Linked DNA regions of Homo sapiens: all the other regions are linked to region 3. Evidence: promoter capture Hi-C in 16 types of primary human blood cells and fetal thymus (Javierre and others, 2016). All regions are on one chromosome and are shown on one strand. Each heading gives the region's core, a stretch centred on a gene start or on the middle of the fragment in contact. The rest is flanking DNA. Distances are from core to core; before and after follow the strand shown. Region 1 overlaps ELAVL1 (ELAV like RNA binding protein 1). Region 2 overlaps ADAMTS10 (ADAM metallopeptidase with thrombospondin type 1 motif 10). Region 3 holds the start of NDUFA7 (NADH:ubiquinone oxidoreductase subunit A7). Region 4 overlaps TIMM44 (translocase of inner mitochondrial membrane 44). Region 5 overlaps ELAVL1 (ELAV like RNA binding protein 1).

What was found. Contacts are between HindIII fragments. The CHiCAGO score rates a contact against its expected background, and 5 or more counts as called.
Region 1: a fragment that was not itself captured here is called in contact with the fragment with the promoter of NDUFA7 in region 3 in 1 of 17 cell types (naive CD8 T cells); the score reaches 5.8 in naive CD8 T cells.
Region 2: a fragment that was not itself captured here is called in contact with the fragment with the promoter of NDUFA7 in region 3 in 3 of 17 cell types (total CD4 T cells, naive CD4 T cells and naive CD8 T cells); the score reaches 6.2 in total CD4 T cells.
Region 4: a fragment that was not itself captured here is called in contact with the fragment with the promoter of NDUFA7 in region 3 in 2 of 17 cell types (naive CD8 T cells and naive CD4 T cells); the score reaches 5.5 in naive CD8 T cells.
Region 5: a contact is called between a fragment that was not itself captured here and the fragment with the promoter of NDUFA7 in region 3, in 1 of 17 cell types (erythroblasts). The highest score is 5.3, in erythroblasts.

The regions. Positions count from the first base shown.
Region 1 is chr19:7,995,773-7,998,960 of GRCh38, reverse strand. The region is part of intron 1 of ELAVL1 (ELAV like RNA binding protein 1); the gene reads left to right. Among named protein-coding and RNA genes, the nearest start is that of ELAVL1, 8.3 kb to the left of the region's middle. The HindIII fragment of the contact is 4,520 bases long and covers 1-3,188 here.
Region 2 is chr19:8,590,505-8,593,586 of GRCh38, reverse strand. It overlaps ADAMTS10 (ADAM metallopeptidase with thrombospondin type 1 motif 10), which reads left to right. Exons shown (of 26, transcript NM_030957.4): 13 at 717-824; 14 at 1,484-1,629; 15 at 1,724-1,787. Among named protein-coding and RNA genes, the nearest start is that of MYO1F, 15 kb to the right of the region's middle. RefSeq lists an enhancer at 1,188-1,786. The HindIII fragment of the contact is 2,010 bases long and covers 444-2,453 here.
Region 3 is chr19:8,319,657-8,322,932 of GRCh38, reverse strand. NDUFA7 (NADH:ubiquinone oxidoreductase subunit A7) reads left to right here and starts at 1,558. Exons shown (of 4, transcript NM_005001.5): 1 at 1,558-1,625; 2 at 2,027-2,076. The coding sequence starts at 1,575. RPS28 (ribosomal protein S28) reads right to left here and starts at 1,437. Exons shown (of 4, transcript NM_001031.5): 1 at 1,364-1,437; 2 at 1,230-1,277; 3 at 842-980; 4 at 1-661. The coding sequence starts at 1,402. The coding sequence ends at 858. KANK3 (KN motif and ankyrin repeat domains 3) reads left to right here. Exons shown (of 11, transcript NM_198471.3): 11 at 11-349. The coding sequence ends at 94. RefSeq lists enhancers at 1-534, 535-1,502, 1,409-1,648, 1,503-2,470, 2,471-3,276. The HindIII fragment of the contact is 9,773 bases long and covers 420-3,276 here.
Region 4 is chr19:7,936,584-7,939,796 of GRCh38, reverse strand. TIMM44 (translocase of inner mitochondrial membrane 44) reads left to right here. Exons shown (of 13, transcript NM_006351.4): 3 at 1,600-1,770. Among named protein-coding and RNA genes, the nearest start is that of TIMM44, 5.5 kb to the left of the region's middle. The HindIII fragment of the contact is 6,740 bases long and covers 1-3,213 here.
Region 5 is chr19:7,959,658-7,962,631 of GRCh38, reverse strand. ELAVL1 (ELAV like RNA binding protein 1) reads left to right here. Exons shown (of 6, transcript NM_001419.3): 6 at 1-2,974. Among named protein-coding and RNA genes, the nearest start is that of TIMM44, 17 kb to the right of the region's middle. The HindIII fragment of the contact is 248 bases long and covers 1,417-1,664 here.

The sequences.
Region 1 (3,188 bases), core at 197-2,696, 320 kb after region 3:
TAAAAAAATTTAAAAATCAGCCAGGTATGGTGGCACACACCAGTAGTCCCAGCTACTTGGGAAACTGAGGCAGTTTGAGGCTGCAGTGAGCCGTGATTATGCCACTGCACTCTAGTTTGGCAGCAGAGCAAGACCCTTTCTCAAAAGAAAAATAAGTAAAAATAGAAGTGAGCTGGGAGGCCAGGCATGGTGGCTCACACCTGCAATTCCAGCACTTTGGGAGGCCAAAGTAGGAGGATCACTTGAGCTTGGGAGTTCAAGACCAGCCTGGGCAACAAAGAGAGACCCCCATCTCTTTAAAAAAAAATACTAATTTTAAAAAATGAGCTGGGAAGTGAAGGAGAGGACACTAGTGCCCTGCAGAGGGAACAGCCAAAGCAGAGGCCTGTAGCATATTGGCAAGAAGCTGGAGTGAGCGGGAAGGGAGGGTGGCGACTGAGGCTGGAGAACCACCTGGGTCCGATTGTGAAGGGCCTTGCCAGTTTGACAGTTGCATTGTCATGACAACTTGAGGCCTGGCCCTGCCACTTATTAATGGCATGCCTGACCGTGAGCATCATCGTGTGACCGCCGAGCCTCAATGGGTGGTGACCACTGACAGGGAATACCAGAGGGGTGAGCATCTTGATTGCAGGACAGTGCAGGCCTTGCACCTCGAGAGACAGAAGTGGCTACGACTTGGGAGTCAGTGATAATTGAGTGGTGACAAGGCCCAGTTGTGGTTGGAGCTTGTGGGATAGAAGCTGATTTGGCCCAGGATTGATGATGCAGATTTGGAGAAGGTCAAGGGAAGGGCCTCCAGAGAGTGGGGTGGGGGCCCAGAAACGTCATGAAACTGCTTTGCAGGGCAGGTTGTTGGTTTCTCCCGTGTTACTAGTTGACCAAGAACTTGACCTGCAGGGGCTGCTCAGCCTTGACTCAGAGTGTCAGGAGGAACAGGGCCGCAAAGCAGAAGTTCTCTTTTTAAACCTTTTAAAATTTATTTTTATTGTGGTTTTGTTGTTGTTTTTGAGGCAGGATCTCACTCTGTCGCCCACGCTGGACTGCAGTGGCACAATCATAGCTAACTGCAGTATTGACCTCCCAGGCTCTAGTGATCCTCCCAGCTGAGCCCCCCGATTAGCTGGGATTGCATACAGGTGTGCATCACCATTCCTGGGTAATTTTTAATTTTTTTTTTTTTTGTAATGATGGCATCTCTCTGTGCTGCCCAGGCTGGTCTTGAACTCCAGGCTTAAGCAGTCCTCCCACCTTGGCCTCTGAAAGCGCTGGGATTAAAGGCATGAGTCGCCACACTCAGACAATTTATTTTTAAATTTGCATGTAGGAAAATTCATTTTTTCGAGTAGAGTTCTCTGAGTTTTGACAAACGGATAAAGTTGTTTGATTACCACCATAATAAAGATTGGAAAGTTCGCTCTCCCACAAACAGAAATACTCCCTCCTCCTGTCCCTGTGTAATCGACTTTTCCCCTCACTCCCTAACCCCAGCGACCACAGATCCATCCCTATGGTTTTGCCTTTTCCAGGAAGGCACAGAAATGATGTGGCAAGATGTGTTTGAGATTCACACAAGTAGCATGAATTGGTGATACCTTTTATTGCCAGGTGGTATTCTGTTGTATGGTGTATCCCAGTTTATCCATGAATGGCTTGAAGAATATTTGGGTTGTTGTAGTTTTGGATGATTATGAATAATGCCGCTCTGCACATTTATATACAGATTTTTGTGTGAATATAGATTTTCCTTTCTATTGCCTTAATACTAGGAGTAGGATTGCTGGATCCCATGCTAAGTGTATATTTCACCATAAGAAACTGCCAATCTGTTTTCCAAAGTGGCTGTCACATTTCACATTTTTGCATTCCCACCAGCAGTGCATGAATATTCTGGCTTCTCCACATCCCTGCCAGCACTTGACATTGTCTGTTTTGTTGCTGTTGGTTGTTTTTTGTTTTATTTTGCTTTAGCCATTCTAATAAGTGGGTAGCGGTGTCTCGATGTGGTTTTAATTTGACTAATGATGTTGAGCATCTTTTCATGTGCCTGTCTGCCATCCATATATATTCTTTGGTATAGTATCTGTTCAAATCTTTTGCCATTTTTGAAACCAGGTTGTTTGCTCATTATGTTGTTTTTGGTTTTTGGAGATGGAGTCTGGCCCTATCGCCCAGTTTGGAGTACAGTGGCGCCATCTCGGCTCATTGCAACCTCTGCCTCCCAGGTTCAAGCGATTCTCCTGCCTCAGCCTCCCCAGTAACTGAGATTACAGATGCCCACCACCACGCCTTGCTAATTTTTTTTTTGTTGTATTTTTGTAGAGATGGGGTTTCACCATGTTGGCCGGACTGGTCTCAAACTCCTGACCTCAGGTGATCCACCCACCTCGGCCTCCCAAAGTGCTGGAATTCCAGGCATGAGCCAGCACACTAGCCTGCTTCTGTTTTGAGAGCTTAAAAAAAAGTGTTCTGGGCCAGGCGTGGTGGCTCACGCCTGTAATCCCAGCACTTTGGGAGGCCGAGGTGGGCAGATGGGCAGATCACGAGGTCAGGAGATGGAGACCATCCTGGCTAACACGGTGAAACCCCGTCTCTACTAAAAATACAAAAAATTAGCTGGGCATGGTGGCGGGCGCCTGTAGTCCCAGCTACTTGGGAGGCTGAGGCAGGAGAATGGCATGAACCCGGGAGGTGGAGCTTGCAGTGAGCGGAGATCATGCCACTGCACTCCAGCCTGGGTGACAGAGCAAGACTCCATTTCAAAAAAAAAAAAAAAAGGGTTCTGGGTTGGGTGAGGTGGCTTACGCCTATAATTCTAATACTTTGAGAGGCCAAGATGGGAGGATCACTTGACACCAGGAATTCAAGACCAGCGTGGGCAACATAGTGAGACCCTATCTCGACAAAAAATAAAAAATTAGCCAGAAGGCTGAGGCAGGAGGATTGCTTGAACCCAAGAGTTTGTGGCTGCAGTGAGCTATGATTATGGCATTGCACTTCAGCCTGGGCAGTGGAGTGAGACTTTGACTCAAAAAAAAAAAAAAGTGTTCTGACTACAAGTCCCTTTTGCAAATGTTTACTCCAGTTGGTGGATTTTAATTCTCCTAGCAGTATCTTTCACAGAGCAAAAGTTTCAAATTTTGATGATATCCAGTTTATCCATTTTTTTTTTTTTTTAACGAAGTGGG
Region 2 (3,082 bases), core at 199-2,698, 270 kb before region 3:
ATTCAGACGGGAAGAAGGTGGGGCTGATTTTTCACCTGGAGAAAGAGAGGCATGTCCCACACAGACCTAACTCGGCATTGTCCCCTCCCAAACTCCCACCCCTCCACATAGCTTAAAAGTGTTGGGGGCTTCTCCAGTTTAGATGGGGGAACAAAGAGAACCAACAGCTGGAAAAAACTAGAGATGAGGCCGTTGGCCTAGTCATCATCCAGGCCGATTTCTCAGAACCACCACTTTCTCTTCGGCTACTTTGCCCATCCCATAAAAGAACCCCAAATCCTTCCTGTTCATTCCTCAGCAGTTCCCACGTTTCCTTCCAGAAACTCAGAAGGCACCAGGAACTGAATTGCAAAGTTCGTTAGAGCACAGACTCTGAATTAAAGAGCTGGGTTAAACTCCAGGCTATTCCCTTAGTAGCTGTGTGACCTTACCTGTCTGAAGCTTGGTTTTCTCCCAGTAAGATGGGGTAGTACTGCCTAAAGAGGTATATGGCATGTATAAAGTGCTCCATAAATGGAGCTTATTGGGAGAGTATAAGTCACAGGCCATGCCCCGCAAGGGGATGCACGAAGACCCACCGCGAGCCAGGAAGGGAGCACCGGGCTCTCTGCTCTGGGACCGGCAGTGAGCCGGACATCTGGGTCCTCCCAAGCCGGGCGGGCTGCCCCAGGGAGGAAGGGAGGGGGGCGAGCCTGAGCGGGCACCTCGGCCCGCAGGAGGTCTGCAGCGAGCTGTGGTGTCTGAGCAAGAGCAACCGGTGCATCACCAACAGCATCCCGGCCGCCGAGGGCACGCTGTGCCAGACGCACACCATCGACAAGGGGGTGAGCGCCGGCCAGGGCCCCCAACTGGGCCACGCCCCCTGAGCCACCTCCCGCGTTGGCCACGCCTACCCGCCTGTCCTTCGGCCTATTATCTGCTCCCTCCCACATTGGCCACGCCCGCCATTTGTGCTCCCTCGGCTGTGGCCACGCCTACTGCTTGCTCCTTCCCGCGTTGGCCACGCCCACCGTCTATGCGTCCCTTGGTTCTGGCCACGCCTACTGTTTAACTCCCTCCCGCGTTGGCCACGCCCACCGTGTAATGATTCCCACGGCTCTGGCCACGCCTACTGTTTGCTCTCTCCCTCATTGGCCACGCCCATCCCCTGTGCTGCCCTCGGCTCTGGCCACGCCTACTGCCTGTAGACCTCCCCTCCCCAGCCTGAAGCCACGCCCCACCTCGTCTCCACGCTTATCGTGGTCCTGTCTACACCCCTCCCCGTTAAGCACCCTGTGCTCAGGCCACGCCTCTCGCTTGTACCTGGTCTGTCTCCCAGACCACTCTCCTACGTAACCTGACTCTGTTCGCATGTTCAGACCCCGCCTCTGCCCATCCCGGAGAGGCTGATATCTCTGGCTGGGGCCTGGAGTGGGGAACGGTGCATGGGGCCGACGAGTGTCCTCCGGGCTGGACTCACTCCTTCCTGTCTCCCCCCACCCAGTGGTGCTACAAACGGGTCTGTGTCCCCTTTGGGTCGCGCCCAGAGGGTGTGGACGGAGCCTGGGGGCCGTGGACTCCATGGGGCGACTGCAGCCGGACCTGTGGCGGCGGCGTGTCCTCTTCTAGCCGTCACTGCGACAGCCCCAGGTCAGCCCTCAGGACCCCCACCCGGGAGGGCAGCGCGACCCCTGCCCCCATCGCCCACTGCCTCATCCCTCTCCTATCCCACCACCCTTTCCAGGCCAACCATCGGGGGCAAGTACTGTCTGGGTGAGAGAAGGCGGCACCGCTCCTGCAACACGGATGTGAGTTCCCCCAAACCCCTTGAGGGGTGGGGGGAGGAAGCATTAAAAACAGCTATCAGAGGCCGGGCACCGTGGCTCACGCCTGTAATCCCAACACTTTGGGAGGCCAAGGCAGGCGGATCACGAGGTCAGGAGATCGAGACCATCCTGGCTAACATAGTGAAACCCCGTCTCTACTAAAAATACAAAAATTAGCTGGGCGTGGTGGCAGGCGCCTGTAATCCCAGCTACTCGGGAGGCTGAGGCAGGAGAATCGCTTGAACCCGGGAGGCGGAGGCTGCAGTGAGCCGAGATCGCACCACTGCACTCCAGCCTGGGTGACAGAGCGAAACTCCATCTCAAAAAAAAAAAAAAAAACAAAAACGCTATCAGAGTGCTTCATCCAGGCACCTGCTGCCTCCTGGGGAACCTGCAGCCGCCACCCCTCTCTTCCCTCCTCTCCCTGACCCCCACCACCTTCTCGTCCCCAACCCCTCCTCCTTAAAGACCTGGCTCCTTCCAGCTCTCTTTTCCTCCTACATTTAGACTACAAGCCCCCACCTTGAAATCACTGCTTGGCCCTCACAACCCCCTACCATCCAGTCTCTCCCCTCCCTTTACAGCCCAACTTCCCCTGAAGAGTCCTACCCCTGCCTTCTGTCATCCCCCAAAGTTGTAGCTGAAGCTTCCTCTCACCAAACCCAGTGACAGGTGTCTGTCCTCTGCTTGTGCCCTCAGCTGACCTGCAACCATCAGTGAGCAGTGAGAAGTTTACTGGGGAGGGGGTGTTTTAGAGGGCAGTGAGAGCTTTGGACTTTTCAGCCTCCCAGCTGGGGGGAACCAGGTCTTCAGAGAATCCACATGCTAGCACTTTCTATAAACCCTGATCCCTTCCAGACCTTCTCTCTCAAGAAAGACTCCATGTGGCCAGGTGCAGTGGCTCACACCTATAATCCCAGCACTTTGGGAGGCTGAGGCAGGCAGATCACCTGAGGTCAGGAGTTCGAGACCATCCTGGCCAACATGGCAAAACCCCATCTCTACTAAAAATACAAAAATTAGGCCGGATGAGGTGGCTCATGCCTGCAATCCCAGCACTTTGGGAGGCCGAGGCGGGTCAATCACCTGAGGTCAGGAGTTCGAGACCAGCCTGGCTAACATGGTGAAACCCCGTCTCTACTAAAAATACAAAAAATTAGCCAGGCGTGGTGGCACGCGCCTGTAGTCCCAGCTACTTGGGAGGCTGAGGCAGGAGAATCACTTGAATCCAGGAAGCGGAGGTTGCAGTGAGCCGAGATTGTGTCACTGCACTCCAA
Region 3 (3,276 bases), core at 309-2,808:
CTCTCTCCAGAGCGAGTCACCCCCTGGCTCCCAGACAGCCACACCTGGTGAAGGAGAATGCGGTGACAATGGAGAGAACCCCCAGGTTCAGTAAGCTGCCTCGTCTGGCTCACTACACCTAGCTGTGGGGAGATCTCCTCGTCAGTCACCTCAGCCTTTGGCGCACAGAAGGGTCCAGGGTCCCCTGCTCAGAGGCTAACACTGGCCGAAGAGAAAGGCAATTTCAGTTGGGGTGACTGTGGCAGGAAGGGGCTCACTCTGGCCCCACCAAGGTGAGGTGGGGACCAAGTGATAGAGCCCTGATCCACCCACTCTCTGAAACTTCTTTGCTAATAAAACATTCCTACTACGCTTGTGTTTTGTTTGGGGTAGAGGGTGCAATCGACAAACACGACCCCCCGCCTCAAAAAGGAAAAGCTTCGTTTGGCAAGACCGCACGGCCAGGATTTCCAGAGTGCGGAGGATCGGTGACCGCCTGGGAGCCACTCAAGAAACCTGGAGAAACCCTAGTCGTATAACCCAGACAAGAACCTGAGTTAACTTGAAACACAAACGCTTTATTTAAAGGAGCATCTCAGTTACGTGTGGCGGACAAAAAAAAGGAGCAGACTGTGACAGACCATTCCCATCGGCCAAGTGGTCGAACCCGACATCCAAGACCCTGTAAACAGACCCAAACATGAGATGTTGACAGGCCCCGCAGCAATTGGCAAACTCCCGCCTCCCTCTTGTCAGTCTCTGTATGTAGACTCTGCCTCCCAAACCCTCTCACCCTGGGCTTAACGAAGCCTCCCTACCACCAACCAAAGGTCTATCAAAGGGGTGTCCTCTTTGCACCCACCAGCGAGCAGCCAAGCTCAGCGCAACCTCCGGGCTTCTCGCTCTGACTCCAAAAGGGTGAGCACGTCGCCCTCGCGCACGGGGCCTTTTACATTGCGGATGATGGATCGGCTCGTGTCGTCCATGAATTCCACGCGCACCTACGGGTCCCCACCGGAGTGGAGGAAGAAGTAAGGGCGGGCCGCGGAAAGGCACCGCGGAGTGGGAAGCAGATATGAATTCAGAGAACGTGTCGGGGCCAGAATACAGATCGTTAAAGGGAACCATCAGAACCCCGTGATGAAATGAGAATCGGCTCCCGGATTCCGGCTGGCAGGGGTTAGGGCAGGGTAGAGGTCACATCAGGGTTTAGGTCGCCGGCAGTCGGCCAAATGCCCCCACCCGATTACCTGCGTGCACTGTCCCTGAGAACCGGTCCTGCCCAGGACCTTGGTGACCTGGAGGAAAGAAGCTGGGTTCAGACCCGGCCCGTTTGGCTCCTCTAATCCCTCCCCCTGCCCCCAAATTCGGGCCCCCACCTCACCCTGGCCAGCTTGATAGGCTGCACACGGCTGGTGTCCATGATGGCGGCGCGGCGGCGGTCTGGCGGAGAGGAGTCACGTGCTTCGGGGAGAGCCTTTATAGGACGTTCTAGCACCGCCCACTCCCGTCTCGCGATACCACGCCGCGTCTTTCCCAGCAGCCCCAGCGGTGGAGACGTCACCGGCTGCGCCCTTCAGTATCGCGGACGGAAGATGGCGTCCGCCACCCGTCTCATCCAGCGGCTGCGGAACTGGGCGTCCGGGGTGCGCGGGGCGGACAGGGCTGCACCATGGGGGGCTTCGGGCTCCGTGTGTCCGGGACCCGCTCCTGCTCCTCACCTCCCTCCTAAGCCGGGACCCTTCGCTCTCCCCGAATCTCCCTGGGAACCCCCAGCTAGTCACCCCTTCAGCCCGGGACCCTCTCCTGGCCTGGGAACCACTCAGGCCTGGGATTTCCCCAGTCCCCGACCTTCTTAGCCTTGGATCTGTGGGCCCGGACTCTGGCTTTGCTCTTCACCTGCAGGACCCACATCCGTTTCCCCGAGTGTTCATCCCCTGCCTTCCCTTAAAATGCGCATCCCCGGACCATCCCTGGTCCCTTGCCCTCTCCTTTCCTCTCTCCTGGGGTGCCTTGCAGGCCGACCTCTCCTCTCCTCTTCCCACAGCATGACCTGCAGGGGAAGCTGCAGCTACGCTACCAGGAGATCTCCAAGCGGTGAGCAGGCCCCGCTCGCTGCCCAGCCTCTGGCTCTGTCCTTTCTCCACCAAAAACGAAATCTGTGTTCCTTTAGACCCCTGAAACGGAGGGCTGACATCCTGCCACCAGTCCCCTGCCAGGCTGTGGAGGCAGAGGTTTGCCTTTAACCTTGCTGAACTCCGGAGGACAGCCCTCCTGAAACAGCGAGGCCGGGCGTGCATTCTGACTGGCAATCAGGCTAGATTTGCAGTGCTCAGCGTGGCCATGTTAGTCAGTGTTATCCCCAAGCTACAGATGAAAAAAGAGGTCCAGAGAGGCGAAATCATTTGCCTCAAGTCACTCAGAAGCTAAAAAGTGGCAGCGGGGACTTGAACCCAGAAGTGTCCTGATTTCAGACTCATTTATATTAAAATATTAGTTGATATTTACAAGCCCCCGTCATGTATGACCTCAGCCTTGGGTTTAACTTTGTGAACCAGGAAAGTTCTTATCCACATTCTTTCATGGACGCCACATTCTAGGGAGAAGCATAGTAGGGAAACAAACACAGCAGGTAGTATTGTTCTGGAATGCTTTGAAGACAAAACAAAATAAGTGGAAGCTGGAGGGTGGCTACGTAAAGTCAGATGATTGGGAAAGATCTTTCTTTGGAAATTGACAGTTGAGTCCCCTGAATGATGGGAAGGACCCATTCAAAGAATAATTATTGAAAAAACATTCTGACCGGGCGCGGTGGCTCACGCTTGTGATCCCAGCACTTGGGGAGGCTGAGGCAGGCGGATCACGAGGTCAGGAGTTTGAGACCAGCCTGGCCAACACAGTGAAACACAGTAAAACCCCCTCTCTACTAGAAATACAAAAATTAGCCGGGCGTGGTGGCGCGCGCGGGTAGTCCCAGCTACTCGGGAGGTTGAGGCAGGAGAATCGCTTGAACACAGGAGGTGGATATTGCAGTGAGCTGAGATCGCACCACTGCACTCCAGCCTGGGTGACAGAACAACACTCTGTCTCAAAAAAATAAAAAAGAAAAAACATTCTGAGCAGAGGGAACAGGAAGGGCTAAGAGTGTCAGGCTGGACAGAGCCTGAGTGGAAGGAGGCCAGTATGGATGGAACCCATTGAGGGAAAGGGATAATGGTATAATCTATGAAGTCAAAGGGTAGGCAGAGGTAAGGCAGTCATTGAGGATTATAATGAAAGGAAGAAAAATAGCATTAA
Region 4 (3,213 bases), core at 85-2,584, 380 kb after region 3:
CTACAGGCAGGCGCCGCCACACCTGGCTAATTTTTGTATTTTTAGTAGAGACAAGGTTTCACCATGTTGGCCAGGCTTGTCTCGGACTCCTGGCCTCAAGTGATCCGCCCACCTCGGTCTCCCAAAGTGCTAGGATTACAGATATGAGCCACTGTGTCCAGCCTGCTTTTTTTTTTTTTTTTTTGAGATGGAGTCTCATTCCATCACCCAGGCTGGAGTGCAGTGGCACAATCTTGGCTCACTGCAACCTCCGGCTCCTGGGTTCAAGTGATTCTCCTGCCTCAGCCTCCTGAGTAGCTGGCATTACAGGCACCCACCACCACGCCCAGCTAATTTTTGTATTTTTAGTAGAGACGGGGGTTTCACTATGTTGGTCAGGCTGGTCTGGAACTCCTGACCTCAAGTGATCCACCCACCTTGGCCTCCCAAAGTGCTGAGATTACAGGCAGGAGCCACTGCGCCCGGCCTTGTTTTGCTTTCACAAGGCTTTATCTTTTGAGCAGTTTTAGGTTTACAGAAAAATCCAACAGAATGTCCAAAGAGTTGCCATGCCCCTCCTCTCCCATCTGGCACACAGTTTTCTATTCTTCACGTCCTGCATTAGTGTGGAGCATCTGTCACAATTGACAGGATGTTGATACATTATTATTAATAAATGCATGGTTTACCTTCCGGTTCCCTCTTGGTGGTGTACATTCTCTGTGATTACAGTATCATAAGAGTAGTTTCACTGCCCTAACATTTTTCTGTGTTCCCCCCTACTCATCTCACCCTCTTCCTACCAAACCCCTGGCAACCACTGATCTTTTACTGTCCCCTTAGTTTTGCCTTTTCCAGAACGGTCTATAGTTGGAATCAGACAGTATGTAGCCTTTTCAGATTGGCTTCTTTCACTTAGTGCAATATACATTTAAGGTTCCTCTGTGTCTTTTCACAGCTTGAGAGCATATTTCTTGCTTGTTTTTTAAATTATTTTATTTTATTTTATTTGAGATGGAGTCTCGCTCTGTCACCCAGACTGGAGTGCTGTGGCATAATCTTGGCTCACTGCAGCCTCTTCCTCCTGGGTTCAAGCAATTCTTGTGCCTCAGCCTTCTGAGGAGCTGGGACTAAAGGCACACACCACCATGCGCAGCTAACTTTTGCATTTTTAGTAGAGATGAGGTTTCACCATTTTGGCCAGGCTGGTCTCGAACTCCTGACCTCAGGTGATCTGCCCGCCTCAGCCTCCCAAAGTACTGGGATTACAGGCGTGAACCACCGCGCCCAGCCTGTTTTTTAAATAGGGTGCTGTGTTGCCCAGGTTGGTCTTAAAACTCATGACCTCAAGCAATCCTCCCTCCTCAGCCTCCTAAAGTGGCTGAGAGCTCATTTTTTTTTCAGCACTGAATAATATTCTGTTGTCTGGATATACCACACTTTTATCACCTGCTGTTTCTTTGTTTTTTATGATTATTATAAAAGAGATAGCTAATCATCATTAAATGTATATCAACCGAAAAGAGAACATTTAAAAAAATCCCTGAGTCCCTCTGTGGGGCATTTCATTCTATGTTCTACTATGTTCTTTAAATTTTTTTTCTTGTACATTCTTTCTAGTCCAAATCATATTCTTCTGGAAACAGAAAAGGCTTTCTGTCCGGCTTGCTAGATAATGTCAAACAAGAATTAGCCAAAAACAAAGAAATGAAAGAAAGTATAAAAAAATTCCGTGACGAGGCCAGAAGGCTAGAAGAATCAGACGTGCTCCAGGAGGCCAGAAGGAAATACGTGAGTTTCTTTGCTGCTTTTTTTTCCCTCACCCAGGCTGGAGAGTAGTGGTGCGATCTCGGCTCACTGCAACCTCCACCTCCCAGGTTCAAGTGATTCCCCTGCCTCAGCCTCCTGAGTAGCTGGGCTTACAGGCGCGCACCACCACGCCCAGCTAATTTTTGTATTTTTAGTAGTGAAGAGGTTTCACCATGTTGGCCAGGCTGGTCTCGAACTCCTGACCTCAAGTGATCCGCCCGCCTCAGCCTTCCAAAGTGCTGGGATTACAGGCGTGAGCCACCGCGTTGGGCCCCTTTGCTTCTTACCTTTCTTGGTTGACATGTTTGTTTCCAGGGCCAGGGTTTCTCCAGGCCAGGGACAGCCAGAGGAGCTCAGGGCTGGACGGTTGGGGGCAGGGTGGCTCGTGAGGAAGTGAGGTCACTGCTCTGATGCACTAATGAGAGGGAGCCAGGGGACAGGTGCGGGTCTCCAGGCCTCTGGGTTCTGCCATGAGACCATGCAGCGTTCTGTGCAGCTTGAAGCGTGGTCCCCAGACCAGCAGCAGTGGCTCCTCCTGGGAGTGGATGAGCAGTGCAGAGGCTCACACCCTCCCAAACTGCCAGGCCAGCGCCCGCATCTTCACAGGCCCCCAGGCAACGCATGCACACCAGCTATGGGATGCAGCGCTCCTGAGAGCTCCCAGCTGTAGCCCTCTGAGTGGAGCCTGGTGGAAACTGGGTGATGGTGCTGGTATTTTATTTTATTTTATTTTATTTTATGAGATGGAGTCTTGCTCTGTCATCCAGGCTGGAGTGCAGTGGCGTGACCTTGGCTCACTGCAACCTCCAGCTCCTGATTCTCCTGCCTCAGCCTCCCGGATAGCTGGGATTACAGGCGCCCGCCACCACACCCAGCTGATTTGTTGTTGTTGTTGTTGTTGTTTTTTGAAGCAGAGTCTTACTCCATTGCCCAGGCTGGAGTGCAGTGGTACGATTTTGGCTCAACACAACCTCTGCCTCCTAGGCTCAAGCGATTCTCCTGCCTCAGCCTCCCGAGTAGCTGGGATTACAGACACACACCACTACTGCCCAGCTAATTTTTGTATTTTTAGTAAAGACAGGGTTTCACCATGTTGGCCAGGCTGGCCTTGAACTCCTGACCTCAAATGATCCACCTGCCTTGGCCTTCCAAAGTGCTGAGATTACAGGTGTGAGCCAGTGCGCCCAGCCCTATATATCTTTTTATAGAGACGGGGTTTCACCATGTTGGCCAGGCTGGTCTCAAACTCCTGGCCTCAAGTGATCTGCCCGTCTCAGCTTCCCAAAGTGCTGGGATTACAGGTGTGAGCCACTGCTCCCAGCCTGTCATTATTAATTGTCACTTCTCTTCTTGAGCAGCTGCCAAGCCCTGGCTTCTGGGAATGGCTCTGCATTCCTTTATTTGTAAGGGCCCTGCGAGGCAGTT
Region 5 (2,974 bases), core at 291-2,790, 360 kb after region 3:
AACATAGCTTGGAGGCGTAAAATGGCTCTGTATTTTAATAACACAGAAACATTTGAGCATTGTATTTCTCGCATCCCTTCTCGTGAGCGCTTAGACCTTTTTCTATTTTAGTCGGATTTTGTTTTGGAATTTTGCTTTTGTATGAACACTCAGCAGAAAAGTACTTACTTCTTGCCAGTTATCTATTAACCAAAACCTTTGATTTGTAGTTTTAAAGATTAACCCTCAAAGTTCTCTTCATAACTGCCTTGACATTTTGGGTTGTTCTGTTCTGTTAATTTTCTTTTGCTTTTTTGTGTTTTTTGTTTGTTTTTACTTTTGCATTTAAGACCATTAAATTTGATTTTGTTTTGCTCGAATTTTGTTTTGTTTTTTATTTTACCTTTTCTTTCTTTTTGGCTAGGGAAGGTGCAGGTGGCCCAGCATTCAGGGAGGAGTCGTAAGATCTTAAGAAACCAATCCTTGCCTCAAGCAAAAGCATTTCTGAATCTGTGACGCAAGAATGTGCAGTTACAGGCTGGTGGCTTTTAAACCAGGAGCCCGGAGGAAGGGTGAAAGAGAAAGCCTGTGAAATAGGCAGGGCCAGATCACCCAAAACTCCTCAGGACTGGGATCTGGCGTTTATAAATAACTAGTTTACAGAGAGAATCACAAACAGGATAACTTAGTACCAGCAGTTTTTAACCTTGACGTGAGACTAAAACGTGACCGTAGGCTGTTTTTTAGTTATTGCTCTCATGAGATGATGGCTGTATTTATCTGTTTATTTATACCTATTTATGTATTTATTTATTGAAGTGTGAAATTGAGCAATAGGCAGGCACCACCGTCCCCAGAGCAGGTCAGCGTCTCGAGAGGCCCCTGGACAATTGAGGATGCCCATCCCCTCCCCTTTCCCTGATCTTTTACTGAGGGGCTGTGTGCGCGATCCTTGCAAATTGATGATGTTGCCATCCGTACCCAGGCTGTGTCTCATAAAAGTCGGCCTGGTGCCAGAGAGGACCTCCTTTCTCCCACAGAATCCCAGATCCTCAGGAAAAGCCAAAACCGAGGCCCATTGCCCGGATTCGACACAAAAGAGGGTCCCTGCTCTGTTGCCCGAGAGCAGTCTGCATCCTGGGACCAGAATGCTTTCCTGGAAAAAGAAGCCTTTCAGGTTTCCCTGGGCCAGCATCTTCTGATGGAAGGTGGGAGCCAACACCCTTCTGATGGAAGGTGGGAGCCAACACCCTTCTGATGGAAGGTGGGAGCCAACACCCTTCTGATGGAAGGTGGGAGCCAACACCCTTCTGATGGAAGGTGGGAGCCAACACCCTTCTGATGGAAGGCGGGATTCCCGCTTCTGAAACTCCCCCTGGAGTCTCACTCCCACACATGCCCATAGCTAGCATTCAACAGAGAACTCTGTCTTAAGCTTCAACTGTGAAAATGATGACGGGCTTGTAGCACCTCAGCTTCTTTCCTCGCCCCCTTTTATCTGAATCCTATCAATTATTCTGATGCTGGGACAGGTGAGAAGAAACTGTGAAGTATATGAGCCTTTGAAAGTTCCCTGAAGTTTCTCAGTTCAGGAACATTCTCATTGTATGTGGTCTCCGCTGTTTGAACAGCCTTCTAGCTAAAAAATTCCAAAGCCTTTATTTGGGAGTCTTAGCTTGCAAGCTTGTGGAAGGATTTAGCTTAACAACTGTCACTCCTGAAAAGCAATCTCTGTTCCATCAAGGTTCTAGTTGCTGGCCCTGTGTCCTCAAAGTTCATTACATCTTATCAAGGCCTGTTTGCAAAGGGGAGATCCCTTTTCTTAAAAAAGGCTCAACCCAAAAGAAACCATTTCTTAAAAAATTTTACATAGATCAGTTGTATTTCTATTTAGCAAAAATGAGTGCTCTGCTTTTATTTGGGAATTTCGATGAAAAAGCGTTCAGAGTAGATAATGTTCATTTATCAAAAATCTGGTTTGGGAAATACCAAAGAGGCTTTGATTGAATTCCCTTTTGACCCGTGTGTAACTTCCTCTGGTAGTTAGACCCCAGGCAGCTCCGAATTTGTGAACCTGCTTCCTGATGAATTCTCCCTTGTTCCCCCTTGGCTCTGCCATTATTTCGTTTTCAGTGTAATTTGCCAAGCCGCAGTTTTCTGTGCTGGCTGTGCCTCTAGTCGCAGCTCTGTGACTGATTCCCTCCCGGGTGCTGAGTCCCCTCCCCGGCCACCATCCTGCGTGAATATCCTGAAATTCATGGGCTTCCTCGGGGGCCCGCCCGCAGGTGGTGCTGGGTGGGTTCCGCCACCTTCTCCTGGAAGGTGAGCCTTTTCCTGGCCAAGGGCAGCTGCCTTAACCTCTGAGAGTCTGCGCTTGGCCTTAGTCCTGGAGACCCAGCCTCCAGGGACTGAACCGTGCTGCTGTTGGGAGCCAAGACCGGCCCTTTGGAGCCGGCAGCCCAGGGGTCCCTGCTGGATCAGAGAAATAGAAGCACCCGAAGACGGTTAGTGGCAATTCCTTGACCCGGTTTGCTTCCAAATGAAGGCCATTTGTCCACCAGGCATTGAAAAGACATGACTTACCCAGTCCGGCATCGGACTTGAAAAATCGAAATTGACATCACTCAGCTGTTACATTTCACATCCGATTCAGCCCCCTTTTATTTCCATGTGCTTTTCGCAGCCTTCCTGTGTTGGATGAAAGAGAATAAGAATTCAGCTGACAGGAGGCCTCTATCCTGTCCCTCCACCCCACCCTCCACCTCAATCCCCTCCCATCTTCCCCAGACCTACCTCACCTACTAGGACCTGAGGCAGCTCCTTAGCAGAGACCCCTGGGGTTTAGCTGACTCTGGGGGTCAGGGGTTCCTGTCCCCAAACTTCGCAAGACAGCCCTGAAGTCACAAGTGCTTTCTTTTAAGTGGCATTGGCAATTGGCGTGTAATGATGGCAGTAGAATCTGAATCTCGGATCCCAGGCAGGGTTCACATTTCCA